Linked DNA regions of Homo sapiens: region 1 is linked to region 2. Evidence: promoter capture Hi-C in human tissues and cell types (Jung and others, 2019). All regions are on one chromosome and are shown on one strand. Each heading gives the region's core, a stretch centred on a gene start or on the middle of the fragment in contact. The rest is flanking DNA. Distances are from core to core; before and after follow the strand shown.

Evidence for each region. The method cuts DNA at HindIII sites, captures the fragments that hold promoters and counts their contacts. A contact is called where the count stands out against the background at its distance.
Region 1: a fragment that was not itself captured here is called in contact with the fragment with the promoter of RHEBL1 in region 2 in 2 of the 25 tissues and cell types used here (hippocampus and mesenchymal stem cells).

Annotation. Positions count from the first base shown.
Region 1 is chr12:49,004,284-49,007,448 of GRCh38, reverse strand. It overlaps PRKAG1 (protein kinase AMP-activated non-catalytic subunit gamma 1), which reads left to right. Exons shown (of 12, transcript NM_002733.5): 3 at 1,597-1,706; 4 at 1,906-1,987; 5 at 2,085-2,143; 6 at 2,284-2,329; 7 at 2,431-2,485; 8 at 2,816-2,942. The region is part of intron 1 of DDN-AS1 (DDN and PRKAG1 antisense RNA 1); the gene reads right to left. Among named protein-coding and RNA genes, the nearest start is that of DDN, 6.5 kb to the right of the region's middle. The HindIII fragment of the contact is 3,048 bases long and covers 1-3,023 here.
Region 2 is chr12:49,068,304-49,071,505 of GRCh38, reverse strand. It overlaps RHEBL1 (RHEB like 1), which reads left to right and starts at 1,527. Exons shown (of 8, transcript NM_144593.3): 1 at 1,527-1,772; 2 at 2,400-2,471. The coding sequence starts at 1,721. RefSeq lists enhancers at 1,084-1,133, 1,504-1,813 and a silencer at 1,364-1,483. The HindIII fragment of the contact is 9,146 bases long and covers 1-3,202 here.

The DNA of each region.
Region 1 (3,165 bases), core at 250-2,749, 64 kb after region 2:
TGGAAACAGATCTGGGTTTGTTTGAGTCTTTCTTGCCACTTATTAATGGTGTGACCTTGAGCAGTTTATTTAACTACACCTATTTTCTCATCTGAAACATGAGGACATTACTTACACATTTGTTGTAAGGATTAAATTATGTAATTTTTTTTTTTTTTTTTTGAGACGGAGTCTCACTCTGTCGCCCAGGCTGGAGTGCAGAGGCACAATCTCGTCTCACTGCAACCTCCACCTCCTGGGTTCAAGCAATTCTCCTGCCTCAGCCCCCTGAGTAGCTGGGACTACAGGCACGTGCCACCACGCCTGGCTAATTTTTATATTTTTTTAGTAGAGACGGGGTTTCGCCATGTTGGCCAGGCTGGTCTCAAACTTCTGACCTCAGGTGATCCACCCACCTTGGCCTCCCAAAGTCCTGGGTTACAGGTGTGAGCCACCACGCCCAGCCAATGTAATTTATTTATTTATTTATTTATTTTTTTGACACGGAGTTTCACTCTTGTTGCCCAGGCTGGAGTGCAATGTTGCGATCTCGGCTCATCGCAACCTCTGCCTCCCGGGTTCAAGCAATTCTCCTGCCTCAGCCTCCCGAGTAGCTGGGATTACAGGCATGCGCCACCATGCCCGGCTAATTTTGTATTTTTAATAGAGACAGGGTTTATCCATGTTGGTCAGGCTGGTCTTGAACTCCCGACCTCAGGTGATCCTCCCACCTTGGCCTCCCAAAGTTCTGGGATTACAGGCATGAGCCACCACGCCCAGCCTCAATGTAATATTTTTAAGTGCACGTAGTATAGTATGTAGCACATTCAAGCTATTATTTTGGGAGATTACTTCCCTAGTTTAGAGCAAGCAATTAAAATCACAGGAATAGAAAAAGGTAAACTAGCCAGGATCTCCCATTTGTCTAGAGTAGGTGGGATGATTTCTGATTTACAGGGTGATCCCAGAATGGACTATCAGGGTGTTTTGAGCCAGGTTGATTGAGCACTGGGCTCCAACTTATTGTTAATGAGAAATGGCCCAACTTGGACCATGACTTTCCCATTTGCAGGTCTTAGAATAATTTTTTTTTTAATTGAGACAGGGGTTCGCTGTGTTGCCCAGGCTGGCCTCGAGCTCCTGGGTTCAAGTGATCCTCTGCCTCAACTTCCTGAGTAGCTGGGATTACAGGTGCTTGCCACCATCCCCAGCACAGTCTTGGAAGAATTTTAAGAAGCTTACTTCATTGAAAAAAGAGGAAAGTGAAAATGTGCTAAGTATATGAAAGGGAAAGCTTGGATTAAAGATGAGAAACATTTTTAGACTATAACATGTTAAAGAGAGATACTATAGGCTTTATGTTTTAGTCAACTTCTTTTACCTATAGGGACCAATAGATAAAGTCTTAACCTGGAGACAGGGGTTGGATGAAATGGTTTCTAAGAGGTTTATCCAGGTTTTGTGGAAACAATAGGAACAAGACAGATAAAATAAGGGGTCTTATTAAAAAATAATGCTCTAAATATTTGAGATACTAGAACACTATTTTGTTTTCTGTCTCTTTTGATTGGGAGTTTTTATGTGGAAGGAAGCTACTAACTATCCCACCCTATGCAGAGACCCCAGAATCCAACAATAGCGTGTATACTTCCTTCATGAAGTCTCATCGCTGCTATGACCTGATTCCCACAAGCTCCAAATTGGTTGTATTTGATACGTCCCTGCAGGTGGGTGAAATCCTCTTTTCCCTTCCCCCTTTGGAGCCTGTGGTTTAATACCTCTCATCCTATCTCATCCTAAGGGTAATATCCTTATCCTTCTGTGAAGTTAGTCTCATGTTTTACCCAACATGCCCAAACACTGTTCTTTTTTTACAGTCCTGCCCCTGTGGATTTGCCTTTATGATTATTACTGTCTTGGCTACAGGTGAAGAAAGCTTTTTTTGCTTTGGTGACTAACGGTGTACGAGCTGCCCCTTTATGGGATAGTAAGAAGCAAAGTTTTGTGGGTAAGCAAAAGTTTCTGGAACACAATATTATTGGCATCTTGTGCTGGGCAGGGAGACAAGCTTCAGGCAGTGCTGAGGGCTCTGTCTTGTCCTCTAGGCATGCTGACCATCACTGATTTCATCAATATCCTGCACCGCTACTATAAATCAGCCTTGGTAAGGAACCTTAACCCAATGACCAAAATCACTTTCCCTGCCCTAAATCCCTCATTCTCATTTCTTTTTCTCCAAGCAAGCCACGAGGGCTTAAGGAAGCAGAGAGATCAGGTCTCAAATTCTGTTGCTTCTGCTTTCAGGTACAGATCTATGAGCTAGAAGAACACAAGATAGAAACTTGGAGAGGTATGTAGAGAATTGGGGTTATAAAAGGATAAAGGGATGGCGGGTTTCTGGGAAACACTTTTCCATGGTGGTATTTTGTGACCCATCCCTTTTCCCTTCAGAGGTGTATCTCCAGGACTCCTTTAAACCGCTTGTCTGCATTTCTCCTAATGCCAGGTGAGTTCCAGTTACCCATCTGTCCAAAAAGCGGAAGAGATTTTGTCATCAGCCTAGCTAATGCCCTAGACACCCAGGGAAAGGGGAAGAAGAGAGAAAAGACACACACACACACACACACACACACACACACACACACACACACACACAGTCTCTCTCTCTCTCTCATTCTCACTCTCTCTCTCTCTCTCTTTCTCTTTAAGTCTGGCCTGTACACTGCCCCCCTTCCCTAACCATCAGTTTTCCCTGTTGAGCAATACACTGTATGGACCTGTTTAATCACCCCCAGCCCCAGCACTGTGGAACTTATTATCTCCCACCCTCTCACAGCTTGTTTGATGCTGTCTCTTCATTAATTCGGAACAAGATCCACAGGCTGCCAGTTATTGACCCAGAATCAGGCAATACTTTGTACATCCTCACCCACAAGCGCATTCTGAAGTTCCTCAAATTGTTTGTAAGTGCTCCTCAGCCCAGTTCTTTTTTCTCTTTTTTCATTGATTGATTGATTGATTGATTGAAAAGAGAGACGAGGTCTCACTGTGTTGCTCAGGCTAGTGTCAAACTCCTGAGCTCAAGTGATCCTCCCGCCTCAGCCTCCCAAAGTGCTAGGATTACAGGTGTGAGCCACTGCATCCAGCCCCACTTCTTATTTATTTATTAATTTATTTTGAGACAAG
Region 2 (3,202 bases), core at 278-2,777:
CATGTCATGCCCCAGCTTAAATACCTTCAAGTACTTAGAATTAGCCCAGACTCCTTTATGTGGCCTGGCCTCTGCCATTCTCTTAGACTTCATCTGCTTTAGGCTAACTGGCTTTCTTTTTTTCTTCCCCTCTTCCTGGAATTTACCCAATTTATTTCCATCTTAACGCCTTAGCATTGGTGGATTCTTCTTGTGAAATCTCCTAGTTGGTTCCTTCAGATCTTAGTTTAAATGGGGTTTCCTATGAGAGAAAGTATCACTAAAGTGGTCATCTCAGCCAGGCTCGGTGGCTCACGTCTGTAATCCCAGCACTTTGGGAGGCCGGGTCAGGTGGATCACTTGAGGCTAGGCGTTCGAGACCAGCCTGGGCAACATAGCAAAACCCCATCTCTCCCCAAAATACAAAAATTAGCCAGTCTCATAACCCTGTCTCAAAATAAATAAAGAAAAAAAATTAAAAATGCTGTATTGTCTTTAAAAAATAAAGTGGTCGGCCGGGCGCGGTGGCTCACGCCTGTAATCCCATCACTTTGGGAGGCCGAGGCGGGCGGATCACGAGGTCAGGAGATGGAGGCCATGCTGGCTAACACGGTGAAACCCCGTCTCTACTAAAAATACAAAAAATTAGCCGGGCGCGGTGGCGGGCGCCTGTAGTCCCAGCTACTCTGGAGGCTGAGGCAGGAAAATGGCGTGAACCCGGGAGGCGGAGCTTGCAGTGAGCCGAGATAGAGCCACTGCCCTCCGGCCTGGTAGAAAGAGCGAGATTCCGTCTCAAAAAAAATAAAAATAAAAATAAAAAAATAAAAAAAATAAAGTGGTCATCTTTCATCACACCATCTTCTACAGCACTTAACACTCTCTGATATTTCCTTGTTGTATGTTTGTTTCTCCCTTCATAAGAGCAGACACATTGTCTGTGATGTCCATGTTCTGACCCCAAAGCTGGAGCAATGCCTGAAACATGTAGTATATACTCAGTATTTGTTGAAAAATGAATATTTGAGGATCATGATGATGAAGAAGAAACCTCAGACTACTTGATCATAAATTCTAGCAATTTCTGCAAGAATAAGAATTGCAGTTTGAAATTAGATGCTGGAAGACTGGAAACCTTGATAGGTCTGGGGCTGAAGGCTGGGGGAAGCAGAAGGAATATACTAGAACTTTGGCGGTTTTCTCCCTATCTAAGGACCCCAGAGACCATGCAAAAGGGAGGGCTAGAATCTTATGACCGGAAACCACAAAACGGGTATTTTCCATCCATAATTCTTCGAAGCCACTTCAGCTAGGCTGTAAATGCGCAAACGCCTTTAGGACCCCGGGTTCCTTTCTGTTTCTTTATGAATGAACCGGCTCCAGTCTGCGCACGCGCAGCTCCCAGTTCTCCCGCTCCACGTGAGGCCCACCCTTCCCTCCTGCTGGCGGCACCGCCCTTACCCATTCTAATGGACCAATGGCGAGCGGCCTGGGGGGCGGAGCCCGGCGCGGCGCGGCTCAGTAGTTCCCCGGGCGCCCGGCTCCCTGGCGTTAGACGTGCTGTGTTGTGATCACGTGGGCAGCTCCGGGCGCGGCGCTTGTTTTGGTTTCCTTCTAACTTGCCCACGGCAGCTTCGGGGTGAGCGACTTTCCTGCACCAGCTGCCGCGCCTGCTCACACCCTGACCTCGTTTTCGGGCTCTCTGAGCCCGCAGTTCCGCAAGCCCCTGGGGCGGGCTCCTGCCATGCCGCTAGTCCGCTACAGGAAGGTGGTCATCCTCGGATACCGCTGTGTAGGTGAGTCTCCGCCCTGCAGAGCTCGGACGCGCAGCAGCTTTGTAGCCAGAAGAGGCGCGCTGCCGTGGGAACGCGACCCAGGGAGGAATGATGACATCGTAAGGATGGGGTTGTAGAGCGAGGATTGGAAGAGTGGAGGAATGGAAGAGTGGAGGATTGGAAGAGTTGGTGGTGTGTGGAGGCTGCAGGAAGCGGGAGCACTTAAGGGTTAATGCGGACCTGGCTGCGGGAATCTCAGAGTGGTCCCAGCGTTACTTTGGGGATAGGGGTGGGGTCACAATTTGAAAACCGGGACGCGGTCTCCGTGGGGACAGATAGTCGCAGGTGTCCTGGGGCGGGGCGGACTTGATCCTAGGGAATCTTGGATCTTCCTACGAGTGGGATGGGGTGGGGAAGGCGGCGGGAAAGGCTTCCTGCTGCGCTTCTGAATGCATCCGGTAGCCAAAGTGCGGAGACCCTGGGTGAAAAGAGGGTGAGGGTAGACACAAAGGATAGCATTGCTTGAGGCACTCACAGACTGTGGTGTTAATTTGGGGTCTCCTTTGGTCCTGGGCCACAGTCCGAAAGGACAGAGGATGTGAATGTGGATGGATGATTTGGATACAACTGTCACACTGCTCCCCACAGGGAAGACATCTTTGGCACATCAATTTGTGGAAGGCGAGTTCTCGGAAGGCTACGATCCTACAGTGGAGAATAGTGAGTAGACTTCTCCCCTAGTGTGCTGGTGGTATGCGACCCGGAGGGCTTGGATACCCCACCCAACTCCATAATTTATTTCTCTGGTGCCAAGGGGCTGATTTATTTAGACATTACATCTGATTTCTTCTTTAGCAATCCTGTTCGATGGATGGCTAGAGTATGGATTTTGCAAGATATTGAGTCTGGGATAGTTTAGATGTAGACATTAAGAACCTTAGCGTGTCTTTCCAGTTACCTGGATAACTCCCTGGAGCTGATCTATCTGTGTCACCCCCAAGGTTAAGAATGTAAGGGGAGGCTGGGCGCAGTGGCTCATGCCTGTAATCCCAGCACTTTGGGAAGCTGAGGCGGGCGGATGGATTGAGGTCTGGATTTCGAGACCAACCTGGCCAACATGGTGAAACCTCATCTCTACTAAAAATACCAAAATTAGCTGGGCATGGTGGCGCACGCCTGTAATCCCAGCTACAAAGGAGACTGAGGTAGGAGAATCGCTTGAACCCAGGAGGCAAAAGTGGCAGTGAGCCAAGGTCGTGCCACTGCACACCAGCCTGGGTGTCAGGGTGAGACTGTCTCAAAAAAAAAAAAAAAAAAAAAAAAAAGCTGGGCACCGTGGCTTATGCCTGTAATCCCAGTTCTTTGGGAGGCCAAGGCAGGTGGATCACCTGAGGTCAAGAGTTCGAGACCAGCCTGGCCAACATGGTGAAACCCCGTCTCTACTAAAAATA